3 separate regions of the Homo sapiens genome follow, and regions 1 and 2 are each linked to region 3. The links are contacts of gene promoters, found by promoter capture Hi-C in blood cells and fetal thymus (Javierre and others, 2016). All regions are on one chromosome and are shown on one strand. The core of a region is centred on a gene start or on the middle of the fragment in contact, and the rest is flanking DNA. Distances in the headings are between cores, read along the strand shown.

The links. Contacts are between HindIII fragments. The CHiCAGO score rates a contact against its expected background, and 5 or more counts as called.
Region 1: a fragment that was not itself captured here is called in contact with the fragment with the promoter of LMO2 in region 3 in 1 of 17 cell types (erythroblasts); the score reaches 7.5 in erythroblasts.
Region 2: a fragment that was not itself captured here is called in contact with the fragment with the promoter of LMO2 in region 3 in 1 of 17 cell types (erythroblasts); the score reaches 5.9 in erythroblasts.

Annotation. Positions count from the first base shown.
Region 1 is chr11:34,424,396-34,428,522 of GRCh38, forward strand. No RefSeq gene overlaps it. Among named protein-coding and RNA genes, the nearest start is that of CAT, 12 kb to the right of the region's middle. The HindIII fragment of the contact is 3,320 bases long and covers 332-3,651 here.
Region 2 is chr11:34,443,975-34,448,079 of GRCh38, forward strand. The region is part of intron 1 of CAT (catalase); the gene reads left to right. Among named protein-coding and RNA genes, the nearest start is that of CAT, 7.1 kb to the left of the region's middle. The HindIII fragment of the contact is 480 bases long and covers 1,766-2,245 here.
Region 3 is chr11:33,890,177-33,893,768 of GRCh38, forward strand. It overlaps LMO2 (LIM domain only 2), which reads right to left and starts at 1,900. Exons shown (of 6, transcript NM_005574.4): 1 at 1,619-1,900. RefSeq lists an enhancer at 1,356-1,465. The HindIII fragment of the contact is 4,099 bases long and covers 1,481-3,592 here.

The sequences.
Region 1 (4,127 bases), core at 742-3,241, 530 kb after region 3:
CCACATGTCTCTTAATGATCCCTGTGTACTCACATCCCTTCCATTGTCCTTGCCTCACACCTGGGATGGGGAAGCATTAGCTGGCACTTTCCAAACCCTACCCTTCTTTATACAGCTTTTAGGGGCTACAGTCACCTTTAGCTTTTTACACACATCATCCTTTATCTTTCTTGTTCACGTTCCTCTTTTTTAAAAAAGATATTTGATTAAGATCTTTAAGACCTGAAACCATAAAAATTCTAGAAGAAAACCTTGAAAAAACTCCTCTGGACATTGGTTAACATAAAAAATTTATGACTGACCCCAAAAGCAAATGCAACAAAAACGAAAAAGCTTCTGTACAGCAATAATAATAATAATAATCAGAGTAAACATACAATCCACAGAATGGGAGAGAATAGTTGCAAACCATGCATCCAACAAAGGATTTATATCCAGAATCGACAAGGAATTCAAACAAATCAGCAAGAAAAAAGCAAATAATCCCATCAAAAAGTGGGCAAAGAACATGAATAGACATTTCTCAAAAGAAGATATACAAATGGTCAACAAACATATTTTTAAAAAGTGCAACATTACTAATCATCGGGGAATGCAAATTAAAACCACAATGAGATATCACCTACCCCAGCCAAAATGGCTATTATTAAAAAGTCAAAAAACAACAGATGTTGGTAAGGATGTGGTGAAAAAGGAATTCTTATATGCTACTGGTGGGAATGTAAATTAATACAACCTCTACAGAAAAGAGTATGGAAGTTTCTTGAAAAACTAAAAGTAGATCTACTATTCAATCTGGCAATCCCACAACTGGCTATTTACTCAAAGGAAAAAAAAAGTCATTAAATCAAAAAGATACATGCATGTATATGTTTACTGCAGCACAATTCACAATTGCAAAGATACGGAATCAACCTAAATGCTCGTCAACTGATGAATGGATAAAGAAAATATGGTCTACATACACCATGGAATGCTACTCAGTCATAAAAAAGAACAAAAGAAGGTCTTCTGCAGGAAATTGGATGAAACTGGAGGCCATTATTCTAAGTGAAGTAACTCAAGAGTGGAAAACCAAATACCACATGTTTTCTCACTTGTAAGTGGGAGCTAAGCTATGTGTATGCAAGGACATACAGAGTGGTATAACGAACATTTGAGACTCAGAAGGGGGAGGGTGGAAGTGAAATGAGGGATGGCAAACTGCTTATTGGGTACAAAGAACACTACTTGGGTGATGGGTGCACTGAAAATTCAGACTTCACCACTATACAATTTATCCATGAAACCAAAAACCACTTGTACCCCTAAAGCTATTGAAAATATATATAAAATATTGAAAAAAAAATATATATAAAGGTCCTCAGTGCTTAAAAAAAATCAAGTGTTTTTTTAAAACTTGCCAGACAATGGAATATATTTTATAGAAAAAAGTCGATTGAGTAGTTTCACTGAGGGGGTACAAATCAGCGGTTGTTAACGGCCACAAATTAAGGATTGAAAACTAGCACTGTGGATAGAGAGGAAAGAGTCCACAGGCCTGTATGTTGGTTAAAACAAGTCCTGTGGTTCATTGGTCAATAAACAGTTTTCAGTTAGATTCTTTGAGGGTCTGGCATACCTGAATCACTCAAAATTTATGGTCCTAATCAGCCACAGCAAGTTAGAGCCAGTTATGATGAAACACAATGTTCAGTTTTACTGTTTCCTGAGTAAGTATTGCTCTAAAAATACTTCCTTTTATGCTTTACAATCAGAGCTGAATTTGCCAGTTGAGCATGAAGGTTTCTTGTAGCCAGGCCTCCTTCCCTCCACCTCTGGATAAATGTGCTTCTACTGAAGCTGCTATTTTTTGTTTATTTGTTGTTTTTGAGACAGGGTCTCACTCTGTCACCCAGGCTGGAGTGTAGTGGCACAATCACAGCTCACGGCAGCCTCAACCTCCTAGGCTCAAGCAATCCTCCCACCTTAGCCTCTGGAGTAACTGGGACTACAGGCGTGTGCAATGATGCTCAGCTAATTTTTAATTTTTTTTTTTAGAGACAGGGTCTCACTATGTTGCCCAGGCTGGTCTCAAACTCCTGGGCTCAAGCGATCCTCTAGCTTCTGCCTCCCAAAGTGTTGGGATTACAGGAGTGAGCCACTGTGCCTGGCCTGAAGCTATTTTAATCCATGCCTTATCCACTATTCTTTGGATTTTGCAAATTCCCTCCTTTTATTCTGGACAAACAGTACTTTCCTCCGAATTTCAGAACTGAGATCTAGTCTTGATCAATATGAGTTTTCTCTAATATCTTTGTTTCTTCTTTTTTTAAATTGACGAAGGTAGACTCTCTAATCTCAATGTTTATCTCTTTAGTTTCCTTCTAGGCCTTCCTTCACAGCCAGGTCCCCACAGTGAAATCTGTCCTTAGCCCGACTGTGCCATCTGGGGCTCTCTCAGGGAGACACTGGTTTTGCACTCCAGGTCATTGTTTCTTTTAGGTGCATAATAGCATAACATGATAGCACATCTGCATTTAATTATGATTCCGTCTTCCTGGCTCCACGTTCACAAATTTCTAAGCCTTTGGAGAGAAGGAATATTTGCTACAAACATTGGCTGCAGTGATGATGTTGTCATCTGCTTTTGATTTCCTAGATGTAGCCATAAACAGATGCAAAGTTTGGCTAAATGGTTGGGAGTGGAGTGTTTGGACCATCTGACAGGGTGTAGATAGGACTCTCCACATGTCTGCAGTCATAATTTTGTCCATTTTTTTTAAGTTTTTTGTCTTTAAAAATATGCCTCATCACTTCTTTTTCTTCCTACACTGAACTGGCACAGAATAAATAGAACCTTGACTTTGGTTTCACAATGTATGTGGTGGATTTCATAGACTTTTGTGTTTCATAACACAAAAATGTTTGACCTTTGCAAATGATTTCTTTTCATCTTTAGGTCACAGAGCTTTCGTGTTGATATATTTGAGAGGGGCAGAGAGTAATAACACAGGGTAATATGATGTAAGGAGGACAAATGCCTTTTTCTGTTACAAACCACACACCTCCTCTGCCTCCAGCCAGTGCAATGCTTTTGACCATAAACTTCGTTGAATCTGTCCATGTAGCCTAGAGTCAGCCACTGCTGAATCATTCTCCCAACTACAATGCTCCCTGGAGCGTTCATTACAGCACTCAAGAGTTTTGATGACTGGCACTTTTGGCATCTTTTTTTTTTTTTTTTTTTTTTTTTTTTTTTTGTCGTGGGCTTCAGCTGCCCCAGCTCCTTTCCAACACCCTACTTTCCCTTGCTCAAGGGTTACTTTAGGGTTGATGATTACTGAGGACACTCAACAGAAGCTCAGATGTTTGAGGAATGCAAGTTGTTATAAGATAAGGTGCTTTCTTGCACTTAGTTAACTTCAGACATCAAGACTTGTGTTGCTAGGGTTCTTGCTAACAGAACAATACACAGAATAATCTGTAAACTTAATAGCGCAAGAGATGGCATGTTCCAAACATCACCAAAGGCAGCCATAAAATCAGGGCCTATTTTGAAAATTGTGACTGATATTTATTAAACTAATGTCAACCAATTATACTGTCATAAAAAAGTCAGAAACGATGTTCATTGTCAAGTAATTCCTTATCTCAGGATAATAAAAGGCAAGCTTAGGGTACATTTTGTCAGATGACTTCAGGGTTTTATAAGTATTAACACATTAAATCTCATAATGTATAAGGGTTAAGAAAATAGTTTGGTCATTTCTCTGTGTAGCCTGTCTGGTTAACTGTTTATATATTCCTACTTTTTAACTTACTTATTTATTTATTGAGACAGGGTCTTGCTGTCTTGCCCAGGTTGGAGTGCAGTGAGCTATCATCAGTGGACTGATCAACCTCTACCTCCTGGGCTCAACTGATCCTCCCACCTCAACCTCCTGAGTAGCTGGCACTATAGGTGTGAACCACCATGCCCAGCTAATTTTTAATTTTTTTTGTAAAGATAAGGTCTCACTATGTTGCCCAGGCTGGTCTCGAACTCCTGGACTCAAGAGATCCTCCTGCTCCAACCTTCCAGAGGTCTGGACTTACAGGTGTGAGTTGCCACCCCAAGCTGTATTTCTTTCTTTCTTTTTAAGACA
Region 2 (4,105 bases), core at 756-3,255, 550 kb after region 3:
ACAGAAATTTTTAAGGTTTCATTTCTTTTTTTTAGCTTTTGCATGGTGGGTAGGTCTATGCAAACCTACCCCCAAAGTCTGAGGAAGCTGAGAGGCCAAAGAAAGAGGCTGACAAATCAAGTTTCTCAGAAAGAAATGTTTAGTAGGGACTTAGGACCAGAAACCATGTCTGTGTCTTGCGTGTTGGCGAGACAAGATGGTGGATCCCATACCATTACCCCTCAGACCCAGGGCTTAATACCATAGGGAAGGGCGATTCAGAAGGGAGGTATGGCATGACTGAAGTATGATAATGTCAAGGTTGTTTGACCTCAGGGCAGGATTTATAGTAAATAGGGGCTCTTTCACAAGGAATAATAGATAAACTGGAAATCTTAAAACTGGAGTTAATCAGAAGTCAGCATGGTGGATCAGTATCTAAGACGGAATTGCTTTAGCTTCCACAGCAGTCAATATCTAGACCACCCTTATTATTTTCCCACAGACCAAGAAATTTGAAGGTCAGGACAGTCTTTGGTTTCCTGTACGTGGGTGTATACGTTGTAGGCACTTGAATCTTTGTTGAATAAATGGAGAATGTTAGGCAGTTATTTGCTAGAAAACGCTAGGCACATTCTTTATCACAGAATGAAAAGACGTCATTATGACTCCTCTGGGACTGATGGGCAATTTGCATTAACCAATCTTTTAATTAAAAGTGGAAGAATATGTTTAGGTTCTTGAAACTTCTGTGAGTGAAGGGAACTACTAAGTGGAAAGTGTAATATGTTGATAAAATATTTCACCAGATGAAGCCAACCTTACTCCTCCCAGGAAAACTTCTTCATTTATGTATTAGCTCTGGCCAAAAGAAGCCTATAAAGGCAGCAAAGTCAAAATAGAATTTTACTTTAAGTCCCTACTTCTAATAATTGTGCTAGTTTTTAGCCAAGCTAATTTCTGTGGCAGTTTTCATAACAAGTGTGTCTAAAGGTGTTTGATCAGAATTTATAAATTAAAATATTTCTCTCATTTTTTGGAGGGGCGATGCAGGGAGAGGGATAGACTGTTGCTGCTTCCTCCTGCTTGTTAGAAAGGCTCTTGGCCATATCATATTGGTCCGTGGTTTAGTTTATTTGCATGCTGAATCCACACACATTTGTTTTATGTTTGTTAGTATATTGAGCAGTGTATTAGGGATCAGGTATATAGATGTAAAAGGAGTACACAGTCTAGAGAGGAAAAATAGTGACAGGCTGGGCGCGGTGGCTCACGCCTATAATCCCAGCACTTTGGGAGGCCAAGATGGGCGGATTTCTTGAGGTCAGGAGTTTGAGATCATCAGCCTGGCCAACATGATGGAACCCTGTCTTTACTAAAAATACAAAAATTAGCTGGGTGTGGTGGTGGTCGCCTGTAATCCCAACTACTTGGGAGGCTGAGACGGGAGAATTGCTTGAACCCGGGAGGAGGTGGAGGTTACAGTGAGCTGAGACCATGCCACTGCACTCCAGCCTGGGCAATAGAGCGAGACTCCATCTCAAAAAAAAAAAAAAAAAAAAAAAAAAAGAAAAACAGTGACATAAACAGGCAATTACAATATTTTGTTATATGGGGCACAAGAAGATGCCCTTGGCCCTGCTTCATGAGTGGTGTGGGGCAGGGTAGAGAGAGCAGTTCAGGAGAGGTACGTATGGATGTCATGGGAGCTAGCAGCCAGGAAGATGTAAACATGTTAACAAGGACCTCTCCAGAGAGAGGTCTTAAAATTATCCAGCCATAGAGAAGCTTTTCTCTCTTTAAAAATATTCTGGCTCTAAAGTTATTCATTGAGTTAAAAACAATAATTGCAAGTTGGAGGAAATCTCTTTGCCTGTCCTTACGTGTTACATGTAACAAGTAAACCTGTGCCACAACACTGACATCTCTGCAAAGTTACTTAAGTTTTCTGAGTTTGTAGTATCGCCCATTAAATGGGATTAATAATATTGATCTCTGGATTATTGACAGGCTTAAGTGAGATAACTTGCGTGGTCCGTTTTCTAGCCCCACCCTCTCATTTCATCTAGTAAATCTTCATTGCATTAATTATTTTCATCTTAAATACACCGCATCCTGCTCCTCACCTTCTAATATTAATACTCTATCTTTCAGTTTAGATCAGTTCCTCTTATCCAATGTTGCGCTAAACATCCCCTGAAGTTGGGGGATCTTTTCCTTTCTAGTTTTTGCTCCCTGGCTTCCCTTTTCTGTTGCTGACTGTTGAAGCTTTCCTGCCCCACTGGCTTTGAAGGTAAATTGTATATACATGAGCTTGTGGGGAAAGCTGTTATATAAATGAGGACAATTGATCTAACTGTTAGAGTGGGGAAATGGAAGAGATTCTGAAGCCTCCATTTGTAACTTAAAAACTCAGGTTTCATTTCTTAACAGGATTGATGTTAAGGAGGGGATTCCTTCATTGGGCAGGAGGGAGGACTGCCATAATTCCAGCATTCCCACTCTTAATAGTCAGTGTCATCAGGAAAGACCACCTCAAGCTTTAGTACTTTATTCATTTATCCAACTCTGCACCTGCTGCCTTTGGGTGTGGTATTTATTCTTGACCATATCACCCTGACCCGGTAACCAGAAGGGAACATGTGATGTGCTCTCATCTCTGCCTTAGGGGCAGCTCCCTCCCCACGTTAAGAATGCTGGCATGTAAATAACACTCTCATCTGTTTAGCGTTCCTTTTACTGAGCTTCTTGGTATCTTTTCTCATACTTGTACCTTTTATGGGATGTCCCCCCCTTTTTTTTTTTGAGACGGAGTTTCGCTGCTGTTGCCCAGGCTGGAGTGCAATGGCACGATCTCAGCTCACCGCAACCTCCGCCTGCTGGGTTCAAGCGATTCTCCTGCCTCAGCCTCCCGAGTAGCTGGGACTACAGTCACCCCTCCACTGCACCTGGTACTAATTTTGTATTTTTAGTAGAGACAGGGTTTCTCCATGTTGGTCAGGCTGGTCTCGAACTCCTGATCTCAGGTGATCCACCTGCTGCAGCCTCCCGAAGTGTTGGGATTACAGGTGTGAGCCACCGCGCCCAGCCTGGATGTCCCTTTATTTTTTAAAGGCTTCCTTAAATACCTTGTTTGTAAGTTGAAAAGAGCATTTAAAGAGTGAACAGATTTGGTTTGCTCTGGCTCTCTAATTATTTTAACTTTGTTATCACCCAATAGTTCTAGGTTAGTGGTTTTCAATCCTAGCTTGAACAGGAGTCATTTAAAAATAGCCCAGGCCTCACCCAGGGCACTTCTATCAGACATCTCTAGGGGGGATGGCCCAGGCATCAGGAGGCTTTAAAAAGCTCCTCAGGTGATTTTAGTGCATTGCCAAGGTTGAAAACCAAGGCTTTAGGTTTAAACTAAAGGTGAAATTGCTCTTTTTCTGGTTCATTTTCTACTTTAGAAAGTAGAAATTTTTTTTCTGGTTCATTTTCTACTTTAAATTAAAAATAAACCTACAGAGGGTAACACGTATTAGCACGTCACAGAGGGTCACACGTATTAGCAACATATGTATCTTCAAAAGAGTGATGTGACTGGGTGGTAAGTGTTGATTGGACCCTTAAACTGTGACAGTTTAGAAGGGGCTTTGCTAGATGGGTTTAGGGACAGAGATGGTAGAGTGAGAGAGTGTGGATGGAGGAGTATGCATCTGTCATGATTACTAGAAAAATAAAACTTCAAATGCTTTGCTCCTTCTGCTGCGAGGTCATGTTCTCACAGCCAGTGAAGTGACAGCATATATGTGTTGAATGTGTGGCTTGCATTTTACATTTAACTCTTTTAATTCATGTGTTAACCTTAGGAGGTACTTATTATTCTATTTTGCAGATGAAAATGGAGACTCATAAATAAGTAACTTACCAGCAGCTACATAGCTGGTAATTGGTAGAACTGGAAGTTGGACCCAGGCTCTAGTGCTGGCACTCATAGTTTCTCCCTGCTGCCATGTTGGCCTCTTCCTACTTGGATGAAGATATAACTCTAGTGGCAAGGGCATTTACTAGTGTGTGAGAGGGTCTTGTTTATTAGTTTTGCAAATTGCACGGTCTCCTTTATTCAATATCTTTTTTCAAACAG
Region 3 (3,592 bases), core at 650-3,149:
GTACAATGTGGTGATATCAATCTGGTGATAGATATCAATAGATATCAATCTGGTGATAGATACCAATAGATATCAATCTGGTGATAGATACCTTAGAAGCCCTGACTTCAAGACTATGCAATTTACGCTTGTCACAAAATTGTACTTGTTCCCCATAAATTTATGTAAGTTTTTTTGTTTTTGTTTTTGTTTTTATGAGATGGAGTTTCTCGTCACCCAGGCTGGAGTGCAATAGTGCCATCTTGGCTCACTGCAACCTCCGCCTCCCGGGTTCAAGCAATTCTCCTCTCTCAGCCTCCCGAGTAGCTGGGATTACAGGGATGAGCCACCACGCGTGGCTAATTTTCATATTTTTAGTAGAGACAGGGTTTCACCATGTTGCCCAAGCTGGTCTTGAACTGCTGACCTCAGGCGATCTGCCTGCCTTGGCCTCCCAAAGTGCTAAGATTACAGGCGTTAGCCAATGTGCCCGGCCTGTAAGTTTTTTAAAAACCTAGAGGTGAGTAATTATAATAAGTGATATTATTATTATTATTACTCTTAACAACAATGACAATGATGACTGATGAGGGCTAAGTACCAGCTACTATCCAAGCACTTCCATGATTTATTTCTATTATTTCTCACAATGACCCTATGGGTACCCCTATATTACAAATGAGAAAACTGAGGCTGCCATCTTTCTAAGGTCTAAAGTGATTTTCTGGGAGCACAAACAAGAGCTTAATTAATTTTAACAGATAAAGACAGAAAAGGCTTCACAGAAGATTCACCTTTTCAGGGCAACCTAAAGAAGTATGGGTTGGTTTTCTTTAAGCTGAAACATTACGGCAAGAACCTGGAGTAATATCTGCTTCAAAGGGGAGTTATGCAAAGTCAACAAGAGAAGACGTGTAAAACCCAAGCACAGTACCTGGCACAAAGTAGATGCTCCCAAATCTTTGTTCCCCTTCATTGATCCTCTGTGATGGAAGGAACTTGTAGCCACTTTCCTCATCCGCCTTGGTTTTTCAAAAACACCCTTTGAAGTTATAACCTCCTTGGGAGCCAAGGCTTCTCTGAAGCACCCCATTACAATCTTTGCCCTCAACTCAGAACTGGAATGTGTTTGAAAATGCTAACAAGGGCAGCAGCCCCACCTCTTCGTCATTGCCTAAGGTTGTTAGGCAAACACACACACACACACACACACACACACACACACACACACACATGCACACACACTCACACAGTTGCTGGGGAGATCATGGTAAACACAAGCCTCTCTTTTGGATCAGAATAATTGAGTGGTCTCCCTTTGTGGCCAGTGTACAGGAACAAATTAGATGGGTAAATTAGCAGTTCCCGAAGACATTAGCAACCAGCGGCTCACACAGCAAGCGCCTGACTCACCGTGGGGCCTCTCCAAGTCACAGCCTATGAATAGATGCTCTTCCTCCCTCCGAAAGAGAAGCCAGAGTGCCCGGAACACCACAGGGGAAGCTTGAAGACTTGTACCCCTTTGGAGTCTTTTTATTTTAAAAGACCAATTTAATCACCACTTCTTCTGGCTCCTTGAAGATGAAAAAAGTTCCCTTGCAATCGTCCATTCATCAGAGAATTAATGAAGCCTACTCACCAGCAGATGATGTAATCCTGGTGGCTTCCCCCATCAGATCTAGGCTGCCTGCCCCACGGATACCTTCTGGGCTAATTGCCTGCTTTGCACCTGTTCCTTCTCGGGAGGCCCTGGCACCCTAGCACCTGGTGCCTGTGCCATCTCCCCTCTCTGCCAGGACACCCAGAGGCCCTTGTGAATAGCAAAGCCCACTTAACGGCTGAGGGCAGGTGGGGGTATTTCCTTCTCAATTCTGCTCAAGGCCCGTTGCTGTTCTTTGAGGATGTTGCAAATCCAGGGTTTGGAGGGCTGGGCCTCTTGGTGGCCTGGTTGTCTATCTGATAGGGCGGAGCCTTCACCCTTGCAGCGAGCTCTCTCACACCAGATGTGCTCTGCGTGGAATCCTAGGCCATCAGGGGATTCCTTAGCAAGCCCTGCAGGACCCAAATCCTAACTCAGACCCTCATCCTCCTACTCAGAATGTGGAGACTTGTGATCCTCAGTTTGGACGAATTCCAAGAGACCTTCCAATTCCCAGAGGCCATCTTTGGTTCTGTTCACACATAGCTCCCTCTCCCTCCTAGGCCTTCTCCCTTTGAATTTCTCCCCTACACCATCAGCCTGTATTTACTTCTCCTTCTTGCTTAATGCATGACTATATTATCCCAGTTAAGGGGGTCTGCAGGTTTTATCAGAAAGTTCAGAGGCTCACATGACCTGGATTGGAACTTGGCTCAGCCACTGACTAGCCAGACAAACTCAAATAACGTACACAGCTTCTCAGCACCTCACCCCCTCATTCATAAAAAACAGGGACAATGGTACCCACTTTGCAGGGTTGTTGAGTGGATTAAATTAAACAACACAAGGAAAGAGCTTTCCTAAGTTCCAATGCTATGTAACACACACAGTATTGTCTTACCCAGCAATAATTTCGGTGCACGGATCTGATCATCTCTTAATTAAATATTGAATTCTCCTAACACGGTTCTTTTTTTGAACCCCTCAGGGTCTGAACAGTTATAAGTGCACAGAAGTTGGGTCTTTATGAGCTGAATAAAAGGAGACTCCGGCTGTCTTCTCTTTTGTCCTTACCATAAAGCTCTTGTCAGCTGCTCTCCTGGCCCTGCCTCTGACCCTGGGCTTTGGGGCCACTATAGGCTCTCCTTTCCTTGTCCCCCTCTGAGTCCTGAAGTCCTGGTTTGCAATCTGCTGTTGCAGTTCTCTGGAATGGCTGCTTCCCCATGCGCCCCTGTCTGTCAGCTACCTCCCCCGCATGCATGTCTGTCTGCTGGGCAAGGCCCAATTCCGAGGTGACAGCTCACCGGGCCTCACCCACAAGTCTCTTCCAAGCATTAGCAGCCCACCCCAGTCCAAAGATATCTTTTATAGCTGATCTCTGGTGGCACCTCCTACCTTCCAATTAGGAGCCTGTCAACACCCAGGCCATCACTCTTCCTGCAGTGTCTGACAACACACACGCCTGCCGCGGCTGCGCCGGGAGAGTCAAGCAAAATTGTTTCCATGGTGGTGGTGGTGGCCTGAGCACAAGAGTTGAAATCTAGGTGAATCTGAATCTAGTTCTGCCTTCTCACTTTGCAAGGAGGTGTCTTATTTCTCTTTGAATTGGCAGCACCAAGCATCATGCCTGGCACACAGTAGGTACTCATAAATAAACACGTGTAAATCAAAAAGGCCGAAGATACATTGCTAGCTTGCAGACTCCCTTTCTCAATGTCTAATGATATCCAGTTCATTTCTTTCTCTTACATGTGCAAATCAGAAAGTTAGCTCATAACTCATCTGTTGTGACTTTTTCTTTCCTTTACTTTTGTGGTTGAAAATAAATTTACCCCAGAAAAGAGAGAGAGAAGGTGCCTGATTCCTTTGTCCTCCCTCTTCGATCCTCTCTAAATCCCTGGGTCATGGTAAGACTCTCTGAAATTCAGGGCCATTTTCAGACACTGGAGCCAATGAGGGAAGTATGACACAATC